Regions from separate parts of the Homo sapiens genome. Here region 1 is linked to region 2. The links are contacts of gene promoters, found by promoter capture Hi-C in human tissues and cell types (Jung and others, 2019). All regions are on one chromosome and are shown on one strand. Each heading gives the region's core, a stretch centred on a gene start or on the middle of the fragment in contact. The rest is flanking DNA. Distances are from core to core; before and after follow the strand shown. Region 1 has its middle 46 kb from the start of IDH2. Region 2 holds the start of ANPEP (alanyl aminopeptidase, membrane).

Region 1 (7,072 bases), core at 2,045-4,544, 330 kb before region 2:
CCTGTGTCTTTTTTTTTTGTTTTGTTTTTTTTGAGACAGAGTCTTGCTCTTGCCGCCCAGGTTGGAGTGCAATGGCACAATCTCGGCTCACTGCAACCTCCGCCTCCTGGGTTCAAGCGCTTCTCCTGCCTCAGCCTCTGGAGTAGCTGGGATTACAGGTGTCCACCACCACGCCCGGCTAATTTTTGTATTTTTAGTAGAGATGGGGTTTTGCCATTTTGGCCAGGTTGGTCTCAAACTCCTGACCTTGTGATCCACCCCCCTCAGCCTCCCAAAGTGCTGGGATTACAGACATGAGCCACCGTGCCTGGCCAGGTCTCCTGTATCTTTACATGCCTTCTTTTAAAATTTCCTTTTAGGCCGGGCGCGGTGAGACTCTGTCTCAAAAAAAAAAAAAAAAAAATTCTTTTAAATCTGAGCTCTAATTATGAACATTTTGTATACCCTTTGACAAAACAATTCCACTTCTGCAGAATCCCTGTGACTGTGCCCAAAGATTTGATCCACCAGCAACCCCGGCACAAGGGGCCTGTTCTCCAGAGCACCAGCAGGAACAGGTGTAGCTGGAGGGCAAGGATGTTACTGGAAGCAGTTTGGACAAACCCAAAAAAGGTCCCTCACTATCACAGCAGTGTTCTTTGGGGAAGAAGGTAGAAATGAGGAATGAAGGGTATATTTTCACTTTTACTTTATACACTTAAAAAAAAAAAAAAAAACAGGGCCAGGTGCGGTGGCTCATGCTTGTAATCCCAGCACATTGGGAGGCCGAGGTGTGAGGCTTGCTTGAGCTCAGGAGCTCAAGACCAGCCTGGGAAACATAGTGAGACTCTGTCTCTACAAAAAAATTTTAAAAATTAGCTAGGCATGGTGCATGGTGGTGCACACCTGTAGTCCAGGTACTTGGAGGCTGAGGCCAAAGAATTGTCTGAGCCCAGGAGCTTAAGGCTTCCATGAGCTGTGACTGTGCCACTGCACTCCAGTCTGGGTGGCAGAGTAGGTCTTGTCTCAAAACAAAAATAATCAAAATAAATAAATATAAATAAAAACAAAAAAACAAGATTTTTGCAGAGATTCTTGTCTTAGTTTTTCCATTTCTGATGTTCCCATATTTTCTACAGGGAGCATATGTTGCTTTTGTAATCACAGAAGTGTAAGATAGTGGTATGGACTGAATTATGTTCACCAAGAAGTTCTAGCTTCATATGTATTTGTAGGTAAAGTCTTTAAAGAGGTAATTAAGTTAAAATGAGGTCCTTAGGGTGGGCCCTAATCCAGTAGGATGGCTGTCCTTATAAGAAGAGAAGATTAGGCAGGGCCAGGCACGGTGGCTCATGCCTGTAATCCCAGGACTTTGGGAGGCTGAGGCGGGCGGATCACTTGAGATCAGGAGTTGAGACCAGACTGACCACCTGGTGAAACCCCGTCTCTATTAAAAATTCAAAATTAGCCGGGTGTAGTGGTGCATGCCTGTAATCCCAGCTACTTGGGAGACTAAGGGAGGAGAATCGCTTGAACCCGGGAGGCAGAGGTTGCAGTGCGCCGAGATCACGCCATTACACTCCAGCCTGGGCAACAAGAGCAAAACTCTGCCTCAAAAAAATAAAAGGGAAGAGAAGATTAGGACACAGACATGCAAGAGGGAAAAATGTGAGGACACAAGGAGAAAATGGCCATCTGCAAGCCAAAGAGAGACACCTCAGAATAAATCAGCTCTGCAGACACCTTGATTGTGAACTTCTGGACTCTAGAATTGTAAGAAGCTAAATGTCTACGGTTTAAGCCACCCAGTCTGTGGAACTTTTGTTATGGCAGCCTACCAAATTTGTTTGCAAATTACATTGCAAACAAATGCAATGGTCAGGAGTTTGGGACCAGCCTGGCCAACATGGTGAAACGCCCGCCTCGGCCTCCCAAAGTGCTGGGATTATAGGCACGAGCCACCGCGCCCGGCTGTCGGTCACTTTTTGGTGCGTGGCTAGAATTTGAGCTTCAGTCTGTGAGTCAGGGACCAAGCAGAGGATCCCACAAAGCAAAGAGTGAGGTGTCTCTCCTGCAAGCTGCCACCACCGCAGTCACACCAACAGGCTCAGAAAGCCCTGAGAGCAGTTCTCAGTGAGGAGTGGTGCCCAATAGAAAGCCTATATCCCCTGTTGGTGACAGTGGGGAAGAGAAAGGCCGGAGTCAGGGAAGTGGTGGCTCTTGGCCAGAAGAATATTCCAAAGAGCAGACGGCAGAACGTTCCATTTGGTGGCCCCTTGGGGCCCACCATATACCCAGGTGTTCTGACCCTGTTGTGGGTTCCAGACCCCTTTGGAAATCCAATGAGAATAAGGAACCACCCCCTAGAAAGACACAAACACACACACACACACACACACACACACATAGATTTGGACACTAATTCAGGGAGTTTGTGTCCTCCTTGAGCCAACATTCAGGTTCTCTAATTTCAAACCTCTGCTCTACTGAGAACCATAAAAAAGCAGTTTATGGAACTGTTCGACCTGGCTCCTGCCAGTGCAAAAACTGTTCACTGAGCAGAAGACGAGATGGGACTGAAAGGTAAACAGTCAGATGTAAACAAAGAGAAAGCCAGGAACCTTTACACAAACATTCCCGCAAAGCAGGAGGCTGCAGGCTCCATGTGGCTCTGAACACAGCTTTTCTGATAGCAGAGACTGAATTGGGCACAGAACATCTGCTTTGCGTAATGTGCTCTTTGCAGAGGCAGGCAACAGAACCTGTGGCCCCAGAAATGTTTCCCCTTGAGCTGAAGCTTATCAGAGAACAGAAAGATAGGTGGAACCACGTTCCAGTGTAGATGAAACTGACCAATATGATAAGAAAATGAAACTGTGAACATGTATGAGTAAGCCCCAGGGTTTTGTGTGGCCATCTTCAGGGACTCTTGTAGGCAGTGACGACATGGTAGGCTTGGGAAGCTCTCTGGGCTCACTCCTACATTCTCTGAACACTAGACTGTAAGTAGTAGAGAAGTAAGGGCTCTTGCCTATATATTGGATTATTGTTTTCTTTCTTTCTTTCTTCCCTCCTTCCTTCCTTCCTTCCTCTCTCTCTCTTTCTTTCTTTCTTTCTTTTTGAGATAGAGTCTTGCTCTGTCACCCAGGCTGGAGTGCAGTGGCGCAATCTTGGCTTGCTGCAACCTCCGCCTCCAGGGTTCAAGCAGATTCTCCTGCTTCAGCCTCCCAAGTAGCTGAGACTACAGGCACGCACCACCACACCTGGCTAATTTTTGTATTTTTAGTAGAGATGGGGTTTCACCATGTTGGCCAGGCTGGTCTTGAACTCCTGACCTCAAGTGGTCTGCCTGCCTCGGCCTCCCAAAGTGCCGGGATTACAGGTGTGAGCCACTGCACCCAGCTGCAAGCAGCTTTTTGATGACCTCCTATGGGAGATGAGATTTGTGAAGCTGACAGCATAGCACAGTTGTTAGGACACCAGACTGTGGACCCTCAGTTGGCTGACCTTGGTGGCTCAGATTCCAGCTCAGCCCTTTTCTTTCTGGGTAGCAATGGGCAAAGTGCTGAAGCACTTTCTGTGTAAATTTTCTCATCTGTAAAATGAGGATAACAAAAGCACAGTTGTGAGGACTAACACAGCTAAAGCACTTAGACAGCTGCATCTAATAGTGTAGCCATCAGCCACAGTACCTACTGAGCACTTGAAATGTGGCTTGTCTATCCCAGCTACTTGGGAGGCTGAGGCAAGGAGAATTGCTTGAACCTGGGAGGCGGAGGTTGCAGTGAGCTGAGATCGTAACAATGCGAGACTCCATCTCAAAAAAAAAAAAGAAAAAGTAAAACAAAAAGAAAACGTGGTTTGTCTAAACTGAGATGTACCCTGCGTGGTGCTCGCGCCTGTAATCCCAACACTTTGGGAGGCTGAGTCGGGAGGCCAGGCACAGTGGCTCACACCTGTAATCCCAACAGTTTGAGAAGCTGAGGCGGGAGGATCGCTTGAGCCCAGGAGTTTGTGACCAGCCTGGACAACATGGTGAGACCCTGTCTCTACAAAAAAAAAAAAAAAAATTTAAAAATTAGCCTGGTGTGGTGGCATGTGCCTGTAGTCTCAGCTACTCGGGAGGCTGAGGAAGGAGGACTGCTTGAGTTTAGAAGGTCAAAGCTGCAGTGAGCCATGATTGTGCCACTGCACTCCAGCCAGGGTGACAGAGTGAGACCCTGTCTCAAAAAAACAAAACAAACAAAAAAACCCTGAAATGTGATGTATGCATAAATTCACATCGGATTTTGAAGACTTCATACAAAAAAGGCCAGGTGCAATAGCTCATACCTGTAATCCCAGCACTTTGGGAGGCTGAGGTGGGTGGATTGTTTGAGTCCAGGAGTTTGAGACCAGCCTGGGCAACATCGTGAAACCCCATCTTTACAAAAAATACAAAACATTATCAGGGCCTGGTGGTACGCGCCTATAGTCCCAACTACTCGGGAGGCTGAGGTGGAAGGATCACCTGAGCCTAGGGGAGGTCAAGGATGTAGTGAGTTGTGATCGTGCCACACTCCAGTCTAGGCAACAGAGTGAGACCCTGTCTCAAAAAAAAGTAAAATAACTCCCTAATTATTGATTATATTGGGTTACATAGAATATATTGTAATACATAGAATATATTATTTGTTTGTTTGTTTTTGAGATGGAGTCTCACTCTGTTGCCCAGGCTGGAGTGTAGTGGCACCATCTCGGCTCACTGCAACCTCCACCTCCAGGCTGGAGTGTAGTGGCACCATCTCGGCTCACTGCAACCTCCACCTCCAGGCTTCAACCGGTTCTTCTGCCTCAGCCTCCTGAGTAGCTGGGATTACAGGCGTATGCCATCACGCCTGGCTAATTTTTGTATTTTTGGTAGAGACGGGCTTTCCCCATATTGGCCAGGCTGGTCTTGAACTTCTGACCTCAAGTGATCTGCCTGCCTCAGCCTCCCAAACTGCTGGGAGGACAGGAGTGAGCCACCACACTCAGTCTAAATAGAATATATTATTACAATTAATTTCACCAGTGGGTTTTTTGTTTTTACTTTTAAAAATGCAGCTACTAGAGTTTTTAAAACTACGCTCTTTTCTGCCATGGTGAAAAGTAAATTAATAAATTAAAAAACAACTACTAGGCCAGGCGCAGTGGCTCACGCCTGTAATCCTAGCACTTTGGGAGGCCGAGGCGGGCGGATCACCTGAGGTCTGGAGTTTGAGACCAGCCTGACCAACATGGAGAAACCCCATCTCCACTAAAAATACAAAATTAGCCGGGCATGGTGGCACATGCCTGTAATCCCAGCTACTCGGGAGGCTGAGGCAGGAGAGTCACTTGAACCCGGGAGGCGGAGGTTGCGGTGAGCCAAGATCACACTATTGCACTCCAGCCTGGGCAACAAGAGTGAAACTCCATCTCAAAAAAAACCCAAAAACAAACATTAACAACAACAACAAAACTACCTATGTGGCTTGCATTATGTGTTTATTGGACAGCAGCTGCTTAGAACAAGCCTGGTGTGGAGTAAGTCAGTGTAATTGTTAGCTGCTGTCAGTGTTCAGTGCCTGACACGTGGTAAGGGCTTATTGAAGAGCAGTTTTTTGGTTTTTGTTTTGTTTTGAAATGGAGTCTAGTTCTTTCACCCAGGCTGGAGTGCGGTGGTGCGATCTCAGCTCACTGCAACCTCCGCCTCCCAGGTTCAAGTGATTCTCATGCCTCAGCCTCCTGAGTAGCTGGGATTACAGGTGCTCCCCACCATGCCTGGCTAATTTTTGTATTTTTAGTAGAGACCGGGTTTCACCATGTTGGCCAGGCTGGTCTCAAACTACTGAACTCAGGCAATCTGCCTGCCTTAAACTCCCAAAGTGCTAGGATTATGAGCATGAGCAACCATGCCTGGCCTGTTTTTTTTTTTTTTCTTTTTTTGTGACAGGGTCTCACTTTGTCGTCCAGGCTGAATGAGTGTAGTGGTGTGATGTCAGCTCACTGCAGCCTAGATGTTCTGGGCTCACACAGTCCTCTCACCTCAGCCTTCTGAATAGCTCTGACTATAGGCATACACCACCATGTCCTGCTAAGTTTTCTACTTTTTTAGAGACGGGGTCTTGCTATGTTGCCCAGGCTGGTCGCAAACTCCTAGGCTCAAGCGATCCTCCTGCCTCAACTTCCCAAAGTGTTGGGATTACAGGTGGAGAGCCACTGTGCCTGGCCTTGAATGGCAGTTTTGAAGACTTCTCTCCATCCCCTCTCTTGCCTCTCTGCCTTGGCAATCCAACCTGGAAAGCATTGTCTGTTTCCTTCCCAGCTTGTCCTATTCACCGGCAGTGAGAGCCCTGTCTTTCCTTTGATCCTCCCAACTCCCAGTGCCTCTCCAGGGGTGCTGAGCCCCCCAGTGGATTTCCATGCTGGTGGGACTTTCTGGGTGTCCAGTTTCCCATCACCTCCCCTCTCCCACCAGCTCTGGGCCCGAGTACCTCTGCGTTCCCCCGGAGTCCACCCACCTGGGGTGTTGTGATCACTCTTTGCCATCGTCACTCTCGGGTTTTCTCCTTAGGCCCTGCTCTTCTGAGGCTTGATCTGTGATGCCGGGAGAGGTGGGACGCTGCCAGAAGGGGCTACTGGCAGGCTGCCAAGAGGCTGCCCACAGAGGCCTTTGCCCTGACAAATTCACCCCTGGGGCCCTGGGTCTGCCCTCCGCCTGGCAGCTGGTGGAGAGGAGAGCCAGGTCCCAGCTGTGGACTCAGACTAATCAATTGCTCAGGAGGCCAATATATACACCAGGTGGTAAGTTTCCAATGCATTTAGCAGGGTGAGACCGGTTTTTGTTTAGGAAAATATCTTGATAGCCACTTTTGTTGAGGAAGGGGAGGTGCTAAGGACATAGTTGAAGGAAGATGTTTAAACACAGGAGGAATCAAACGGCTTTACAGAGAACGTTAACCGGAACTTGGGGGCGAGGGACCCCAAAAGAGAAGAAGAAATGGAAAGATGGTCATAGAAATGAAGGGTGAAGGAGGGAGGAGGGAGGGAGAAAACAAAATGGCAAGGGCAGAGCCTGGGAGGTATGTGT
Region 2 (6,795 bases), core at 1,896-4,395:
CACCCTTGCGAATAGTGTGTTACCAAACTTTTTTTTTTTTTTTTGAGACAGGGACTCACTCTATCGCTCTGGCTGGAGTGCAGTGACACGATCATGGCTCACTGCAGCCTTGACTTTTCAGGCTCAAGCAATCCTCCCACCTCATTCTTCCAAGTAGCTGGGACTACAGGCACGTGCCACCACGCCTGGCTAATTTTTTTTTTTTGGTAGAGACAGGGTTTTGCCACGTGGCCCAGGCTGGTCTCGAACACCTGGTTTTAAGTGATTCTCCTGCCTCAGCCTCCCAAAGTGCTGGAATTACAGACATGAGCCACTGTGCCTGACCTACCAAACTGCTTTTTATCTTTGCTGATCTGGTAAGTGAAGAATAGTATCTTTTGTAGTTATAATTTTCATTTTCTTAATAAGTGAGTTATTGAACATCTTTTTACATGTTTATGAGCCCATGAATTTTCTTTCTGCAGGAGCAAGCACTGTCTCTTCATCTTTTTTTTCACAGGGGGTGGACAGAGTCTCTCTCTGTTACCCAGGCTGGAGTGTAGTGGCGCAATCTCGGCTCACTGCAACCTCCACCTCCCGGGTTCAAGCGATTCTCCTGCCTCAACCTCCCCAGTAGCTGGGATTACAGGCACCCACCACCATGCCCACCCAATTTTTGTATTTTTAGTAGAGACAGGGTTTCACTGCATTGGCCAGGCTGGTCTCGAACTCCTGACCTCGTAATCTGCCTGCCTTGGCCTCCCAAAGTGCTGGGATTACAAGCATGAGCCACCACGCCCAGCCCACTTAGGCTATTTCTGATTTTCCAGTATTATAAGTAATACTGCAGTGAAAAGCCTTGCATATAAATATTCTATTTCCTTAGGCTAAATTTATTTATTTTTTTGAGACAGTCTTGCTCTGTAGTCGAGGCTGGAGTGCAGTCATGTGATCTCAGCTCACTGAAGCCTCTGCCTCCCAGGTTCAAGCGATTCTCGTGCCTCAGCCTCCCAAGTAGGTGGGACCACAGGCATGCGCCACCACACCTGGCTGATTTTTGTGTTTTAGTACAGACACAGTTTCACCAGGTTGCCCAGGCTGGCCTTGAATTCCCGACCTCAAGTGATCCACCTGCCTTACAGGCATGAGCCACCACGCCCAGCCTCTTCAGGCTAAATTTCTGAAAGTGATCTTCATTCCTAACCCCAAACTGCCCTCCAGAAAGCTGGGTTGCACTTCTGCCACAGCAGGATCTTTACTCCTCTTAAAATCTCCGCGGAGCCTGGGTGGGAGAGGCAGAGCTCCGGGGGGAAGATTCTCTCCTGGCCTGATGTAGTGTTTTCCTTGGCTTGTCAGACATGGAGGAGATTATGCCAGATATGATAGTGGAGAGAGTCAGACATGCATGAGACTGGAGAGAGAAAAAAAACAAAATAGCCTCTGAGGTCTCACTCACAGCCTACTTACTCTTACTTTACACACAATTCTATATTCCGATATGTTTGTGACCTGGTTTTTAAGAGTACAGAGCAAATTAGGAAGGAGAAGCAAGGCTGCTACCTAGAGGTACCCTGGTCCTCCATGAAGTTTCCAAAAGAAGAGCAAGTGCAAGTAAAATAATAAAACACAGCCAGTCACAAAGCCATCAATTTGGACCATGCAGTGCAAGGCTTTAACTGTCCCAAGGATTCCAATCATGGATAAGGAAGAGCTTAAATTTGATTATAAATCTGAAAGTCTGGAAGTCAGCTTGAATATTGTGGTAGACATAATCATATCCTCCTCCTCAAAAGATGCCCTGGTTCTAATGCCCAGAATCTGTGAATATGTTATGCTACCCCACGAAGGGAAATTACAGTTGCAGGTGGAATTCAAGTTGCCAATCCATTGATTTAAAATAGAAAGATTACCCTGGATTATCTGGGTAGGCCCGATGTAATCACAAAGATGCTCACCAGTGGAAGCAAGAGGCAGAACAGTTGGTGTCAGAGTGACAGATTGTGAGAGACTGGTGGGCCACTGCTGGCTTTGAAGATGGATGGGGCCACCAGCCAAGGAATGTGGGCAGCTTCTAGAAGCCAGAAAAGCCAAAGAAACAGGTTCCCTTCCAGCCTCAAGAAAGCTGTATCCCTCAACCCCCTTGCTTTTAGTCCAGCGAGACCCATTTTGGACTTCTGATTTTACAAAACTTGTAAGATAGTAAATTAGTGTTGTTTTATGTTTGTGTTACGGCAGCCACAGGGAACCAATACAAATATTATCTGGTACCGCCCATTAAAGCTGCTCAGAGACAGGGAGCCCCACCCTGGCGGGGCTCCGGTGGCTGCACAACCTCTGCAAGCAGGATCAAGATGAGAGGCGCAGGCCAGGTGTGGTGGCTCACTCCTGTAATCTCAGCACTTTGGGAGGCCAAGGCGGGCGGATCACTTGAGGTCAGGAGTTCGAGACGAGCCTTACATGGTGAAACCCTGTCTCTACTAAAACTCCAAAAATTAACCAGGCGTGGTGGCGTGCACCTGTAGTCCCAGCTACTCGGGAGGCTGAGGCAGGAGAATCGCTTGAACCCAGGAGGAGGAAGTTGCAGTGAGCGGAGAAAGTGCCACTGCACTCCAGCGTGAGCGACAGAGCGAGACTCTGTCTCAAAAACAAATAAAGGAAAAAGAAAAAAATGAGAAGCGCGTGTTCCCGACTCCGGTGCTTTTTCGCAAGGTCGTGCTACTGCGCCTTCTGAACTACGAGTCCCAGGTACCAAGAAAGTTGAATTGCGTGCTGTGGCGGGTCCGTTATCTGCACCACCCGTCTGCACGGGATGCGCTGGCTTCCTGCCCCGGATGCACAAGGCTCCCTGCGGGACACTCAGGGCGAGGCTCTGAGCCCCTCCCCCGCGGCAGATGCCGTCCAGATGTGGCCGGCGGGTCCCGCGGGCTGCGGCGACAGGGACCCCGTCGGGGGCAGCAGGAGCCCTGGTGCATCCCAGGCCCCGGGGGGAAGGCCGGGCCGTCGGAGGAGCGGAGGAGCCCTGGGGGGCTCCCGGGAAGCCGCGGGCGGACGGGGGAGGAGCCCGGGCGGAGCTGCGGGCGGGCGGCCCGCTAGGGGTGAATCGGGTGGAGTAGTGGTCGGGTCCGGTTACTTCCCTTTAAAAAGACGGGAAAGGAGGAGTCCAGTGCTGGAGGGGCAGGGACGGCGGCGGCGCAGCTCGGAACCCGCCAGGGTCCAGGGTCCAGGTTCCAGCGCCCGGCGGCCCAGGCAAGTGGGGCGGGAGGGCGGGGGCTGCGGGCGCGGGTAGGGGTCGTGGGGCAGTTGGGTGCGCGGGAACCGAGGGAGCTGCAGACCCAGCGCTTGGCGCGTGCGGAGCTGGACTTCTGCGGCCGCGACGCCCCTCTTCCCAGATGGGTAAACTGAGGGCCAGGGAAAGCGAAGAATTCTTTTGGCCGAGCTCCCACTACGATCTCGCGGTCAAGTGGGTCCCCAGCGGGCCTCGCAGGGGTCGGAGGGGCTCCCATCTGGGGAGGGGGCCCCAGGGTGGGCGAGGGCGACGGGAGCCTGGGGAGGACGGACGGGGAGGGCGGCGGAGCGGAGCTAAGCTGCGGCGGGTGGACCCGGCTCGGCCGCGGCCACTCTGTCCCTGGTGGGTGGGGCGCGGCCGAAGGCAAAGGGCGAACCCGGCCCGCCTGTGGGGTCTCTGGCCAACACTGGGCTCAGAGGCCCTTTCTTTAACCTTAGATCTCGCTCCTCGGTCTAAAGCCTCCGCCGCAGCTCTCAGTGAAGAGGAAGGGGAACTCTAGGTGCTCAACGCCCGCGTTACAGTCGCGTTCTCCCTCGCTCCTACAACCCGGCCAAGATGCCGGGGCATGGATGGGGACCGAGGTTTGGGGGTTGTGGAGCCTATTCCACGCCCTCCCTGGTGAGCAACTGAGACAGATCCAGGGCCCCATTGCAATCCACTCTTGGTCTGGGAAAAGGTCCCCTAAACAGGGCCAATGGGATCCTTTCCCCAAATGACTCCAGAACGCACCCCCCCCCCCCAGCAGTGCGGTGGGCAGGGACGGCCCAGGTGGGCTATGTCCTGGGGTTTTGTGACTGGATCCCCACTCCTCCCCCACCTCAGCCCCTGGACTGCAACCCACCAGGCCGTGTTCGGGGGTGGTCAGAGCCCTGGTCTCAGCCAGACCTGAGGTCTGATGTGGCTTCATCCCTGAGTCTCTAAACGCCCTGGCCTTACTGGGCCTCAGTTAATTCACCTGTGAAAGGGGAGGCTTGGACCAGAGGGCCCCTCAGGGTATGTGTTTTGTGGAGGGGAGGTGGGCGTGTGGGGTAGGGGTGACCAGGAGGAAGTGGGGACAGCCTCTGTCCCACAGGAAGGCTGGCTAGCCCCAGTGGGTATGGGGGAGCTGGGCAGGGAAGAGGGTGGACTCCCCTCTCCCTGTGGGAGGGTGTGCTGGGCCCATGAGGCCCTCATCCACTCTCAGCCACCTTCCTGTGGAGCCCTAGCCTCGAAGGCCACACTATGAGTGCAAGGAGGCCACCCACAGCGCTGCTCCCGCTTCACAGGTGGGGAAACCGGCCCAGTGTCTTGAGGCAGCCCAGCCGCCTGCCCTGTGCTTCCCCCAGAGCCTTCTGGGGAATGAGACCTTCGTTACACGCTGGCGCTCCTTACACCCCTACAGCCTTTAAGCTAAGGCCTCCAGCCCCATCGCTGTAAGAATTGTATGCTAGGCATTCTGAGGACATAGATGGGGGTCCCCATGTCGGAAGGAGCCAAGGTGTTGGAACTGGGTCCAGTTCCTGGGCTGGCTCTGGTGGGAGATCTGGAACCCTATGCTGGGGCTCCTGGACAGCCCTGGAGGCATGGCATGGACAGTGTGTCAGCCGCACACCGAGGCCCTGGGGTGTCCTTATTCACATAGGCTGGCAGCCATCTATCCCTAGCCCGGGCTTCACCCCGGGTGCCTGTCACTCCTGGCCCTACAGTGGTCCCAGTCACACCTTGGAGGCAAGATGTGGGTCCTCCACAGGCCTGTGTCTGGAAGCAGCCCCCAGCACTCCCTGGCTAACAAGTTCTACTTCTGAGAACTACCCCCAGCTCCCAGCCCTGGTCTGGCCAAATGGGTGCGTGTCTTCTCCTGTGGTCTTCAACTCCCCTTGGCACGGCCACAGTAGATGTGAGGGGCTGTATGGGAGGACATTTTTAGGAGGCATATGTAGTTAAGCTGTGGAACCTGCTGCTAACTAGCTGTGTGGCCTTGGGCAAATCACTTAACCTTTCTGTGCCTCAGTGTCCTCATTTGCCAAATGGGGGTGATTATCCTGGTAGGGCACATAGTAGGTGCTCAGTTTCACCTACCATGTGTCTCACCAGGATAATCACCCCCCATTTGGCAGACAGGAGTTGCCAGGCAGGATCTGTGGCCCCACACAAACCCTATGTGTACTTCCCCCACCCACAAATGCCTCTGCTCCTTCCTCCTGTGTGCCCTGCATTGGGCTGAAGAGGCTGATGAGAGGCAACTTCCCATTGGGGCCTTCTGAGGTTCTTGCAGGAGGGGCAATGTCCAAGGCTCCCAGAGGAAGCACCCTGGGGTGATGCAGCTATGGGCGGAGGCCTCAGAAGCCTGGGAGAAAGCCAGGGGCCTGCGGGGACAGAGTGTGCCCTGGCCCAGGCCCAGCCTCGTCCCTACCCTTCTCGCTCACTGCTCCCTCAGAGCAGACAATGAGCCCCAGGTTGTCCCTGAGCTCCCAGTCTCATAGTTCACAGTCAGGGACACTGAGTGGGAGTGGGTGGGGCCTACCCAAGGACCCAGTGGTCGGGGATGGAGCATGGATAACACAGCAGCTCACCCGGCCACGGGTGCTCAGCTCTCCCGGCCACAGCCCCTCCCAGGCTCCTGGAGTCTTCATATTAGAGTAGAAAGCCTCTTGCACTTCACATCTGAGACCAAGGAGCCTCTCCCCACCCACAAGTGTGGGTGTCTTCCACACTGTGACTGTGACTTAGTTATGCCCTGGCATGATCGTTGTCAACCTTCATGTTTTTTGGTTTTGGCTTTGGTTTTAGTTTAGAAGAACTTACGTTTTCTGGACTAAAACATAGGCAGGGAAGAAATACATAAACCCATAGAAAGGCTGCTTTAGTTGAAGTGGGTTGAGAGCTCGGCTTCTACCCCGTCAAGAAATTCACAGCGAAAGGAACACATGCATTTTGCTCACTGGCAGAAAGAGCCTGCACCAAAGACAACCCGCAGGGCCAGCAACCCCAACATCATACAGGGTGGAGCAGCAGTTCCCAAAGCGGGTGCAACTGGACAGGATCCTTTTAGGAGCTACCTAGAGGAACAATTTTTTCTTTTTTTCTTTTTTTTTTTTTTTTTACTTGAGATGGAGTCTCACTCTGTCGCCCAGGCTGGAGTGCAGTGGCACGATTTCGGCCCACTGCAACCTCCGCCTCCCGGGTTCATGCCATTCTCCTGCCTCAGCCTCCCGAGTAGTTGGGATTACAGGCGCCCACCACCACGCCCGGCTAATTTTTTGTATTTTTAGTAGAGATGAGGTTTCACCGTGTTAGCCAGGATGGTCTCGATCTGCTGACCTCGTGATCCGTCCGCCTCAGCCTCCCGAAGTGCAGGGATTACAAGCATGAGCCAACACGCCCGGCCCAGGAACAATTTTTAAACCAATAGTCATGAATTGTTAATATAAATTAACACATCCAACCATGATTTTATCGCTCAGAAGGAGGCTAAGAAAGTGAATTGATTTAAAGAAAAATACGAAGTAAATAATCACAAAGGTGGATCACGAAGGTGGTTTGTGCACAGC

What was found. Contacts are between HindIII fragments. The study calls those that stand out against the background at their distance.
Region 1: a contact is called between a fragment that was not itself captured here and the fragment with the promoter of ANPEP in region 2, in 1 of the 25 tissues and cell types used here (IMR-90 fibroblasts).

Annotation. Positions count from the first base shown.
Region 1 is chr15:90,145,041-90,152,112 of GRCh38, reverse strand. No RefSeq gene overlaps it. Among named protein-coding and RNA genes, the nearest start is that of IDH2, 46 kb to the right of the region's middle. RefSeq lists an enhancer at 2,715-2,924. The HindIII fragment of the contact is 6,132 bases long and covers 229-6,360 here.
Region 2 is chr15:89,811,202-89,817,996 of GRCh38, reverse strand. ANPEP (alanyl aminopeptidase, membrane) reads left to right here and starts at 3,145. Exons shown (of 21, transcript NM_001150.3): 1 at 3,145-3,225. RefSeq lists cis regulatory regions at 2,762-2,764, 2,782-2,811, 2,810-2,813, 2,721-2,849, 3,101-3,106, promoters at 2,721-3,209, 2,055-3,209 and an enhancer at 3,077-3,576. The HindIII fragment of the contact is 19,993 bases long and covers 1-6,795 here.